Linked DNA regions of Homo sapiens: regions 1 and 3 are each linked to region 2. Evidence: promoter capture Hi-C in 16 types of primary human blood cells and fetal thymus (Javierre and others, 2016). All regions are on one chromosome and are shown on one strand. The core of a region is centred on a gene start or on the middle of the fragment in contact, and the rest is flanking DNA. Distances in the headings are between cores, read along the strand shown. Region 1 has its middle 16 kb from the start of MMP12. Region 2 holds the start of MMP8 (matrix metallopeptidase 8). Region 3 has its middle 25 kb from the start of MMP7.

What was found. Contacts are between HindIII fragments. The CHiCAGO score rates a contact against its expected background, and 5 or more counts as called.
Region 1: a contact is called between a fragment that was not itself captured here and the fragment with the promoter of MMP8 in region 2, in 2 of 17 cell types (M1 macrophages and M0 macrophages). The highest score is 8.0, in M1 macrophages.
Region 3: a contact is called between a fragment that was not itself captured here and the fragment with the promoter of MMP8 in region 2, in 1 of 17 cell types (M1 macrophages). The highest score is 5.2, in M1 macrophages.

The regions. Positions count from the first base shown.
Region 1 is chr11:102,888,838-102,892,926 of GRCh38, forward strand. No RefSeq gene overlaps it. Among named protein-coding and RNA genes, the nearest start is that of MMP12, 16 kb to the left of the region's middle. The HindIII fragment of the contact is 277 bases long and covers 2,499-2,775 here.
Region 2 is chr11:102,722,413-102,726,489 of GRCh38, forward strand. MMP8 (matrix metallopeptidase 8) reads right to left here and starts at 2,542. Exons shown (of 10, transcript NM_002424.3): 1 at 2,342-2,542; 2 at 17-261. The coding sequence starts at 2,443. RefSeq lists an enhancer at 1,749-2,948. The HindIII fragment of the contact is 5,644 bases long and covers 176-4,077 here.
Region 3 is chr11:102,553,342-102,557,153 of GRCh38, forward strand. No RefSeq gene overlaps it. Among named protein-coding and RNA genes, the nearest start is that of MMP7, 25 kb to the left of the region's middle. The HindIII fragment of the contact is 190 bases long and covers 2,244-2,433 here.

The DNA of each region.
Region 1 (4,089 bases), core at 1,387-3,886, 170 kb after region 2:
ATCCTCCCACCTCAGCCTCTCAAGTAGCTGGGACTACTGGTGTGTGCCATCACACCTGGCTGATTTTTTAAATTTCTGTAGACATAGGATCTCACTGTGTTGCCCAGGATGGTCTCAAATTCCTGGGCTCGAGCAATCCTCTCACCTTGTTCTCCCAAAGTGCTGGGATTATGGGGGTGAGCCACTGTGCCTGGCCTTATTTAGTGTTTTTCTTCAGGAGTTTCTAAAATTTTTTGTGGCTTTTCCAACTATTGACTGTTAACAAAATTTTTTATTAGGGGATTTCTTTTCAGAGATACACTAATTTCAGTTTTTGTCAAGAAGGAATTCCACCCATATCCACATCTGGCACAGACCTAACAACAGCCATTGCATAATTAGGGGTTTCTACTCCCCTCTCTCCCGCAACCTGTCTTCTCTCTTTGCTGGACAGAAAGATCCCATCTCGTTACGGTGTGGCAGCTCTGAATATGCTTTACCCATTTCAGTCTACACATACGTTCAGGGAATTAAAGGAAGACACGGCCTCTTTCAAAACGCTTTAAAGAACTGTTTAAATTTATCTCCCAGTCTAAATCTGCCTATTTCTCTAACTGGTACCATAATTTTCACCACCATAACTGAAACTCCAGAAGGGTTATGGGTTGTGCTGTTTTGTTCATTGACGTATCCCAGTACCTAGACCAGTGCCTAGATGCAGTATGTGCCCAGTAGATATTTGATAGAGAGAGTGAAGAATACTTCCACTCATCCAATCTCCAACTCTTTCATGTACTTAACAAACATTTTGTTAACTTTTAGGGTCACCTGATACTCTTCCTTTACTCTATTCCCCTCCCACCACCACTTTTAATCAATTTTGAAGTCTTGTTATTTCATGTACTACTTATCACACTCATCTTCATTCTTTTTCTAATCCCATCTAGTCCATAAGTTTAACATCTCATACCTTGAGTCTTAAATGTCCTAATTAGTCTTTTAATTCCATTCTCTGTGAGACACACAGTTGTCAGAATTTTTTTCCTATGTTCCATTTTTTACATAGTGTTCCTTTTCTCAAAAATTCTCAAATATTCTCAAAATAAACTGAAAGGGGTTATCTCAGAGCAGAGCAATTACAAGGGATTTTTACTTGCTCCTTTGTATTTTTCTGTATTTTCTGAATTTATAGATTAATTTTTATTTCAAAATTCCAATACATTTTTTTAAAAAATAATATCATTGTTTCAAAGTTAATTCCACAAATATTTCCCGCCTGTGTGTCAGGCATTGTTTTAGGTGCTAGGGATGCAATTCTTGTTTTCAGGGCGCTCACAGTGTAAGAGGGGAGACAGAGAATGAAACAGATAATGACAATCAACTGATAAAGATGTATCCTCTGTTTGCTGCACAAGGGGCTTTACATGAATGACCATGCAGAGTTATGGATCCCAGAAGGGACACAGGTGGGGAACACACCCTTTTCTTTTTTTTTTCTTTTTGGAGACAGGGCTCACTGTGTTGCCTAGGCTGGAGTGCAGTGGTGTGACCATAGCTCATGCAGCCTCAACCTTCTGGGCTCATGTAATCCTCCCACCTCAGCCTCTTGAGTAGCTGGGACCACAGACGAGCCCCACCACACCCGGCTACACCCTTCTTCTGAATCCTAGAATAAATCAAAGAGAATCTTAAATCAGGTGAGAGTGTGAGGGAAGGCAGAGGGTGAGGAAGTTGAAGCCCACAGAAGTGAGAGAGTGTGCAACGCCCAGGAGGATTAGGGTGACACAACTGAAGCGCAGAGGTGTTTGTGTGTGTGTGAGAGAGAGAGAGATATGGGTCAAGGATGTTTCTGGAGTGGGAACTGCAGAGGAATGCAGGAGCCCAGATTCTGCTAAGGAGTTCCAATTCAGTCTTGACAGCACTGGGAACCACTGAAGAATTTAAGTAGAGGCAAGGCATGGTCATATTTGCGTTTAGAAACGTCATTCTGGTCACCTTGCGGAGACTGTGTAAGATACAGTCAGAACCCAATTTATCAAGGTCAAATTTCTTCACTTGTCAAAGTCCTTACCATCTGCCCCCTTCCTCCTTTTCTTGCCTCTTCTCCCACAGTTCCCTGCAACCAACACTGCCAGCCTTCTATTCCTATCCCTCTGACTTTGCTGCTGTAGTTACTTCTTCCTGACAAAGAATTTTTCTTCCTCTGTACCCCTTGATCTCTCCAGATCTTAACCTCCCTCCACCTCTCAGATACTCCCAGCCACAGTCCCATCTCCCAGCCACAGTCCCATCTCCCTGCTTTTCATGCTCCTAGGAATTGTGACTTTGCTTTATATCTGCCTGTGGTCCCAGCTATCACCACACACCTACAAAAAGCAAAACTCAAGATGTGCTGTTTCAAATGATAGTGACTTAAAATTATGATCCAGGCAGGGTTTTAATACCTTAATACCTGCCCTGAGATGGATGTATCCCCAAGTGGTGGATGTGGGTTGGATTGTGTAATTTCCTGTGGGCAAAGCTTCTTTTTCACCTAGATAAACTCTGAAGCTCTCTTCCTGGAGTTCCATTTTATTAGCTTACACAAGTGTACTCCCTGTTTTTAAAAAAATTATAGTTTTACATTTTATTTTTTATAGAAGTGGAGTCTCACTATATTGCCCAGGCTGATCTCAAACTTCTGGGCTCAAGCGATCCTCCAGTCTTAGGCTCCCAAAGGGATTTGGGATTACAGGTGCAAGTTACTATGCCTGGCCTGTACTCCCTTTTAAAGGTTGATTTTTTGATGTAAAAGAAAGCTTTACCATTTATTTTTACTTCAATATGAAACCTTCTCATGTGCTTTTTCTTTTTGGTGTTTGAAAGCAACCTAGCTAGAGAACAATGATAATGTGGGGCTGAGAGGAAACATCAGAAATCTGAGGTTGGAGAGGAAATGTACATGATAGGAATGGAAGCCACCAAGTCAGAAGACAAGCTTCCCAAACTTCTTCATGGTATAGGGCAGTAGTAGAGCTCAGGTTCTAGAGCACTGTTTCTCAAAGTGTGGTCCCAGACCAGCAGCATCAGCCTTTCCTAGGAATTTGTTAGGAATGCAAAATGTTGGTTTCTTTCCCAGACTTCTTGAATCAGAAACTCTAGAGGTGGAGTCCAGCAATGGCAGTTTGGGGACCACTGCTCTAGCATTTAAAGGAAGGATCTACAGAGGATTTGCGCTACAGCCTGCCTTTAGTTTTTTTTCCCTTTTTCCCTCTTTCCCTGCTCCTAGGCAACAAAGATAAAAATATAGTAAAAACTAGGTGCTTCTCTGAATGGCTGGATTTGAAGAAGTTCTATTTTAAAACTGCATTTAAAAAAAAGGGCCAGGTGGTTCACACCTGTAATCCTAACACTTTGGGAGGCCGAGGCTGGTGGATCACTTGAGCCCAGGAGTTTGAGACCACCCTTAACAACATAGTGAAACCCCATCTCTACAAAAAGCTGAGTGTGGTGGCATGTTCCTGTAGTCCCAGCTACTCAGGAGGCTGAGGTGGGGGAATCACTTGAGCCCAGGAGGTGGAGGTTGTAGTGAGCTGAGATTATGCCACTGCACTCCAGCCTGGGTAATAGAGTGAGACACCACCTCAAAAAAAAAAAAAAAAAAAAAAAACACCAACAAAAAAAACTCATTGATTACCTGCAGGGCACCAGCCACTGTCTGAGGCACAGTAAACAGAAAGAGAGTAACTATCCCTGCACTAGAGGAGGCCTGCTCAAGGCAGTATGTGTGTGTGTGTGTTTGTATCCGTGTTGGGATGGGGATGAAGTGGAAAGTGGGAAAGGCTTTTTGGAAATGATGAATCCCAAATTGCGTTTTGAAAAGTCGATTGGAGCACGAGGTCAAAGGTAGGAAGATGCACTTTAGCCAAAGGACCAGTTGTAGAAATGCTCAGTAATTCCCTTGTGAATATTTTGATCCAGAAAGATATACTAGAGCATTGCAGAAACGCAGCTGCCCAGGAGTTTGGTTTTTACTGCCTGACTTCACTTTGATTTCATGGCTTGGATGAAAAAGAGACATCTACTTCCTAGTTTCTCTCTATCTTAAAGTTCAATATTGAATCCAACTCT
Region 2 (4,077 bases), core at 1,292-3,791:
ACCCTAGAGATATCACCTGTAGGTCAAGTTAGTGCGTTCCCACTTGGGGTTTCCTGGGGTTAACATAAAACCACCACTGTCAGGCACTCCACAGCGAGGCTTTTTCATCATGTCCAGAGTTTCCTCATTTGGCTTCCCCGTCACATTCAACCCAAAAAATCGCTGCATTTCTTTAAGCTTTTCAACGATCACATTAGTGCCATTCTTCCTTGTAGACTGATACTGGTTGCTTGGTAATTGGTAGAACTTTTCCAGGTAGTCCTGGACAAAGACAAGCACATAGGGGTCTTGCTGTGAAAGGACCTCCAGTTCTCTGGTCATTTTGCAACCCTTTCTAAGTTACTACAGAGGTCTGATAACTTGACAGCCACAGGAACAATAACACAAATTAATTTGTAGGTTGGCTTTGAGAGAACAACTCTTTTTAGAAAGAACAGTTCCTCCACTCAGTGCTCCAGTTAATGGTTATGCATAAAAAAGGGTGTCTCATAAGGGATGAGGATCACATCACACAGGCAAAGTGCTACTCTACAGTCAGGAGACTGTCTTCTTGTTTTTACAAAAAAATTAGGACTAACATTAATTGACTTCTCTTGAGGTATTTGTTGCATCAGTGCAGTTCCTCTTTTTTATCCTCTTCACTACTGTAGAAAAGGCTTATTTATTCTGCTGAACAAACAGAAGCACAGAGAATTAAGGAATTTTCCAAGTGATGATTCAGATTTTAACTCACCATGTTGCCTCTCAAATGAGAACTGATAATTTCAAAATAATTTCAAATATCTTTTAGGGGAACAGCAATATCATTGATATTAGCATTTTATTCACCAAAGTAACTCTTTGGAAGTGTTAAATTTAGTCAAAATCCAAAGAGTTTAGCCTAAAAATTACCTATTTTAAGTTTGGCTTAAAAGTTTCTTCATACACAGTGAAATGTAACCTAACTAGACCTCATGCTGCCTGTGAACACCTGGCACCTTGTCAGTGTCTTAGTCCATTTTCTGTTGCTATAACAGAATATCTGAAGCTGGGTAACTTATACATAAAAGGGGCTGATTTTCTCTCACAATTCTGGAGGCTGGGAAGTCCAAGATCAGGTGGCTGCATCTGGTTGGCTTCTGAGATGGCCTTGTGCTGTGTCATAACATGGCAGAGAAACAAAAGGGGAGCAAGCATGTGTGAAAAGGGGCAAAACACAAAGGGCAGCCCCTCTTTATAATACCCATTCTATTAATTACTAATCCAGTTCTGCAAGAGCCAGAACCCACTCCAGCAAAAATTAATCCAGTCACACAAGAGTGTCATTAATCTTTCTTAATGACCTAAGTACTTCTTAAAGGACCCACTGTCACATGGGCTACTAAATCTTTAACACATAAATTCAAGGGACACACTCTAACCACAGCAGTAGGTGACACTGACCAGATCACACGCTTTGGAATCAGACAGGCCTGGGTTCAAATCTTAACTCTGCCATGAATTAACTGTGAGCACTTGGCCACATTATTTATCTGATTTAAGATATTTTTGTCTCTGAAATGAAAATAATAATGCTCCAATAAGGTTCTTGTGAGGATTAAATGAGATATTTGTGAAATGTGTAGCAGTTGCCTTGCATAGAATAAGCACTCAATGGACTTTACATTAACCCGGGGGTTACAATTAAGAGATAACCTCTTAATAATAATAATGCTTTCTCCAAACTATAATGCTAAGAAAACTGTGCATGAGAGATTTGTGACAGAATTCCCTTGTGTTTCTTAAAAATTTGGGTTCACTTTCAGACTGTGAAACAATGGAAAAAAACTATTGGTTCTGCTTTTATAATGCTTCCAAGAGTTTATAAACAGTCCACAATCTGATGCTGGGAAATATGATTTTACTGTGTACTGATTTCTAGTTCATTGTAATCTACCATCCTCACATTATTTTCTATATCTGGAATTTTTGGCGGCAAAGAAAATGCCTGTATGGAAGCACCAGACATATAGTAACTTGATTGCAGATATCCTGGAAGGAAAAACCTTAGGTAAATGAGAAAGAAAATGATACCATTTTATAAATAAAACCATTTCTTCTACAAAAGTTTCCCAACTAGGGGTAACTCTACAGCAGTATTTTCCCAGCCTTTAAAGAATTCAGCTTGTTTTCATGTCCGGCTTTTAAAAGGCCTAGTCCTTACCAGCTTGGAACCCTCCAAATCACTAAAAGGAGATGTTCAATCTCAAACTAATCACCCAAATAATTTCTTTCAGGCTGTTTTAATTAACAAGAGAAAACAACCCACACTATTTCCTAATAATCAGCAAATCAAACATCACCTAACTGATAGTTCATTTACCTGAACAGTTTTTGTATTTTTCTCTTTAGAAGATACAGGAAAGGCCTTGGAAATCTGCACATGGAGTAAGAGCAGAAATGGAAGCGTCTTCAGGGAGAACATGATCTTCTCTTCAAACTCTACCCCTCCTGGCTTTCTTTCTGTCCCTCTGGGTAGGGCCCTTCCCTGGCGAGCACCCTGACGTTCACAGCATCATGTGTCACTCACAGCTCTCTTGCAGTCCTCTTTAAAGCCATGTCTTAAACAATTGCTGCATCAGGAATATGAAGCAACATAGGTTAATTACACTCTGACAGTTTTGCAATTTTATAATGTGATTTAGTACCCCCAAATGGGGGAGTCTTTCAACAGTCTTTCAAAACTCCAACTTTCTACTCTTTGCTTTTGGATGTTTTAGTTATTTCCTTTTACAAAATTGGTTGAGGAAAAGGAACAAGGGACTAATCCTGAAGTTATGTGGATACATTTTTTGACTATGTAAGATGTTGAGGTTGAATTAACTTATGCAGGGGAATATTTTGAGGTTTGTGGTAGATATCTTGGGACCAAGGAGCCCAACTAGAGAATCTCTGTACTTACCCTCCCTCATTGTATGTGGAGAGAATGAGTGACTGTGTTATTACAAAGCAGGCTTTGTATGGGGCCTAGAGCTGCTTCTGGAGGATGTGGTTTGGTATCAACATATTAGAAAATCCCTAGTCTATAAGTTAGACTTTCCATGGAAAAGATAAAGAGAACAATACTGATGATGATAATAATGAACATTTGCTAAAAAATTATGATTGCCCAGACATTTGTACTGTGTTCCACATATTACCCCAATCCATCTTCACATAGCCTTGGGAGGGAGATGCTATTACTATCTCCATTTTACAGATGAAATCAAATCCAGAGACATTTAGATGACCTGTTTAAGTCACATGTTTCATTTGTGGAGGGGCCAGGATTCAACCCCAGAGGGTATGTTTAGAGAGACTGAGCTGGGAGCTACTATAAGCTCTGCATGGTAGTCTCCCACTTGAGTCTCTGGCTGGGCCATAGTGGAGCAGCAGCTCTAGGCCTTCAACAGCTGGATACTTTGGCTTATATTCACAGGCAGAAGACAAGGGAGAGGGAGAATGAGATGTTGTACATCTTCAAGGAGTAAGACACTGAGAGATTTCCAGACAATATGGCTACATAGGAGACTGTTTGTCAGAGGCCCCTGGGCATGCTTTTCAAATCATGTAACCTGGTCCCACTTATTCTGAGTCCACATGCATGTAGTTTGTTATCATACACAGTCTTTGTGAATACTCATTTACATATATGCATACATATTTGGTAAAGGCAGGTATTCTTGTGTATAAATGCATGTGTCTACATGTATGATACATAGCATGTATTAATATGTAAAGAGTGTATTTGAGATGCTATGATAAGGAGTTCTGATCTTTCCTGAGGTCACTTAGGAACTTTGAAAATGATCCAAAGAAAGGTGTCTTGGGTTAGAACATATCTGGACAGCAGATTAATGTTAATGATGTATATTCCTACATTCATTCAGTAAACATTTCCTGTCATCTACTACATGCCACATGCTGTGATGGGTGCTAGAGTATTGGAGATAAATTAATAGAGGTTTGGATAAAATGCTGTGGGTGTTTGGAGGAAACAGCAGTGGTGTGGAGGGAGTGAAATCAAGGAAGGTTTCATGAGGGAGGTGGAATTTGAACCGGATCATGAAGAGGTAGAAT
Region 3 (3,812 bases), core at 1,089-3,588, 170 kb before region 2:
CACTTAATCTGAAAATGGAGAAAACAGTAATACCCACCTCACTGAACTGTTGTGAAGATTAAATGAAACAGCACATGTAAGGCACTTAGTGGCTGGCATATACTAAAAGCTTAATAACAAAGATCATTCAGTAGAACTCAATAAAAACTCTCACACACTGCTGTTGGGAGTGTACATGACAATGACTGCTTTTGAAAACAATTTAGTGGTATATATTAAAGCTGAACGTATGCATAGATTATGGCCAAACAATTCCACTTCCATATACTCTTAGGCCTTTACTTTCCCAAATGCATACGTATTAGTTATCTAATAATAAATCACTCCAAAACGTAATAGCCAAAACAACATTTATTATAGCAGGTTCTGTGGGTCAGGAGTTCAGGTGTGGCTGAGCTGGGTCTTCTGTCTCAGGGTATTTCACAAGGCTGCAGTCAGCCAGGGCTGTGGTCACCTCAAGGCCTGTTTGGGGGAAAATCCACTTCCAAGCTTACCAATGAAGTTGTTGTCAGGATTCAGCTCTTCATGTGTTGTTGGAATGATGACCTCAGGTCCGTACAGAAGTCTGTCCTCAATTCCTCGCCACTGAGACTCTCCATAGGGCAGCTCAAAACAAGGCAGCGGCTTCATCAGAGAAAGCAAGCAAGAAGAGTGAGAGTGAGAATGAGCAAGAGAGAGAGAGATCCCCAGCAAGTCCAAGGTCATGGCCTTTAATAACCTAATCTTAGAGAGCAACGCTCCATCATGTTTGCCATATTCTGTTTGTTATGAATCACTACATCCACTTCACACACAAGGGTGGGGATTACACAGGACAAGAATAGCCAGAGGCAGGAACCATTAAGAACTGTTTTAGAAGCTCTCTACCACATGGAGTTTCACTAATAGATACTCACAAGAATATTCATAGTTGCACCGTTTGCAACAGTTAAAGCAGGGAAACAACCCAATGTCCATTAGCAACAGAATGGACAAACATATTACAAATCATTGTAATATATTCATACAATTAAATTCTAAACAACAGTGAGAATGAACAAATTATACCTACATGCAGCAGTATGAATAAGACTTTCAGACATAATGATGAGCAAAAGGAATCAAACAAAAAAGAATGTATATTATACATGCTTGTTTCATTTCAAGGGTTTTATTCTTATTTAGAAATAAGTATAGCATAGATAACGAGCTTGGGAAAACTACTAATGTTCCCAATCTAACAAAGTAAAATCTTACAAAGCAGTTGGCTTATCTAACATCCTGACTCCCTCCATTTTGTGTTATAGCTGGAAGTTACTGGAAACCTTACCGAACTTCTTTTTCCCCTTGGATCTTATTTCTGAGAGACAGAGACACTCTTCAAAACTTACCCTCTTCCTGGGTAAAGAAGCAGTCCTTTCCATTAAGACTTCCATTTCAGAACTTTGGTGATACTTTATAATCTTTTTCTATCCTATTATAAAATAGCAATAGTAGACTTTACCAACAATATGGATTTAGTAACTCACATTGATCTAGACCACAGTGTACCTTTAAAGAACAGAAAATCTAAGTAAAAAATATTAGATATACTGAAAATTTAGTTGTGAGGCCTTTTGGGGTACAGAAAGCAATACCCCAAAATATGGTGCTTTGGCATGTTGAGTGCTTGGAATTAAAGAAAATTGAAGGAGCTTAGAAATAAGCCTCAGAACCAAGGTCTTTCTCTGACCTTCCCCTTCCTCCCTGTCTCTCTGATCCTTTTTCTTCATGAAGAAAGAAGGGACTCTGTGGAATTTTCTTCTCTGACTAAGAAAGCTTCTTACAAGGAGAATTGCAATTGTCTTAAAATATCCCTCCTAAGAATCACATGAAATAACCAGAAAAGATTAACCACTAGAGAAGAGGAGATACTGGGAGTCATCACCATGCCTAAACAGACTTTCCATCTATTCTTCTGAGGGCAGCTCCAGGAGATTAACTGGGAAGCTTTAACTGGATAATAAGACTACCTTTGTTCACTGTGAAGTTCTGCCCCTTGCCTTCTCACCACCTCCCTCCGAGCTCAAAGGAACTTTGTTATTTACTCCGTGCTGTATGAAGAAGGCTATATAAGCATCCGGACCTCATTGGATTATTGGGCAATCATTTTCCTGTGATTCTCCCATGCTTATGCACATTAAATACATTTTTTATGACTTTTTCTCCTATTAATCTGCCTTTTGTCAGTTTATTTTCAGCAAACCTTCAGAGGGCAAAGGTGAAGCTTTCCTTCTTTACCCTACAGGCCCTTGAGAGATCTTGAAATATATTCTTCATTACATTAAAGCAATTCTGTGCTGTGAGAAAGAATGGCAACTAGTCTCTGTCAATGTATTCAAAAAATTATTAGGAGGCTATTATGTGATAGGAAATATTTTCAGTGGTAGAGATAATTTTTCCTTTTCTACAACAAGCTTAAATTGTACTAAGTCACTTAATATTTATTTGTGTAGTCATTTATTGAACTAACACCATGTAACACGTTTTATGCACATTAGTAATCATTATTTTATTGTATCAGCTTTTGCTATGTAATAAATCACTCCAAACACAGTGGCTTAAAATAAACATTTTATCTAGCTTTTGGGTATCTATGGTTGGCTGGGATGTTTGGGAAGGCTGGGACTTTTGAGGCAGCTAAAATGGCTTAAATGGCTGACTTCTCTCTGTATAACCTCCCATTCTCTGGAAGACTAGCTGATAATTCTTCACATGGTGGTCTCAGGGTTTCTAACAGCAAGACAACTCAAGCTCCAATGTGTACATATTTTTCAATCCTCTGCTTGCATTACATTTGATAATGCCCTATTCAAGCCCAAATTGAAGTTTAGATTTAAGGAATAAAAAAATAAATTCCACTTCAATATAAAAGGAGTGGCAAATTCACATTTAAGTGGGCACATGTACAGGGCTGGTAAGAATTACTGTGGCCATTTCTGCAAACGGTTTACTGTGTTTAGCATCCCCATTTTTCATTCAGGAAAACAAACTCAAGGAGTAATTTGAGCAAGTTTATAAAGTCGGACAGGATTTGAACATAGAGGAGTGACCATCAACTTTATATTCTTCCCATATATCACCCTGCTTCTAGGTGGAGCGAGCTTCACAAACCACTTTTCAGAGATTGCCAACTCTGAGAAAAAGGAAAGATGTGACTTTGCGACAACCATTTTGCCTGCTGTAGGAAGGCAGTCAATACAAATGCACTCTTTTATGTCATTATGTCAGTGCTCTGGGCATAGTCAGTGCTCTGGGAAGTCTCCCAGGCAGCCTATTTTCCAGTACAAGGACTAGCTTAGACCGAGGCAATGAAAAATTCATGACAAGAGAGTTCAGAAAATGTAGTGTACTTGCTGCCTTCAGGTACCACTTGATTGACTTCTCTCATATTGGGCTCTGCAGTAGCCATGTAATAAAGCAAGGGTGGGAAATTCCATGTTGGAAGCCCTCTTCCTGGGGCTCATCCCTGAAGGCTGTATGGTTGCTGCCTAAGATGGTAAGGGTATCAGGCAGGTTTACGTGGTGTCTGTGGCCGTGGCAGTATGTACAGAGGACAGTGACCATAATAGTGTCATGGAGGGGAATCTTCCTAACGAGATTTAGTTTACTAAGTTAACATTGCAGGTATTACTTGAATTGTATTCCCTGCTATATGCAACTATTAAATTAGATTTTTTCTTAGGGATGATCCTCTTTATATTTTATTGATAAAAATTTAGTGACAATACTTCAGCTATTTCACAGAGTTGTATTTGCATTCTGACTAATTAGTTCAAAATGCTACCTCTAGT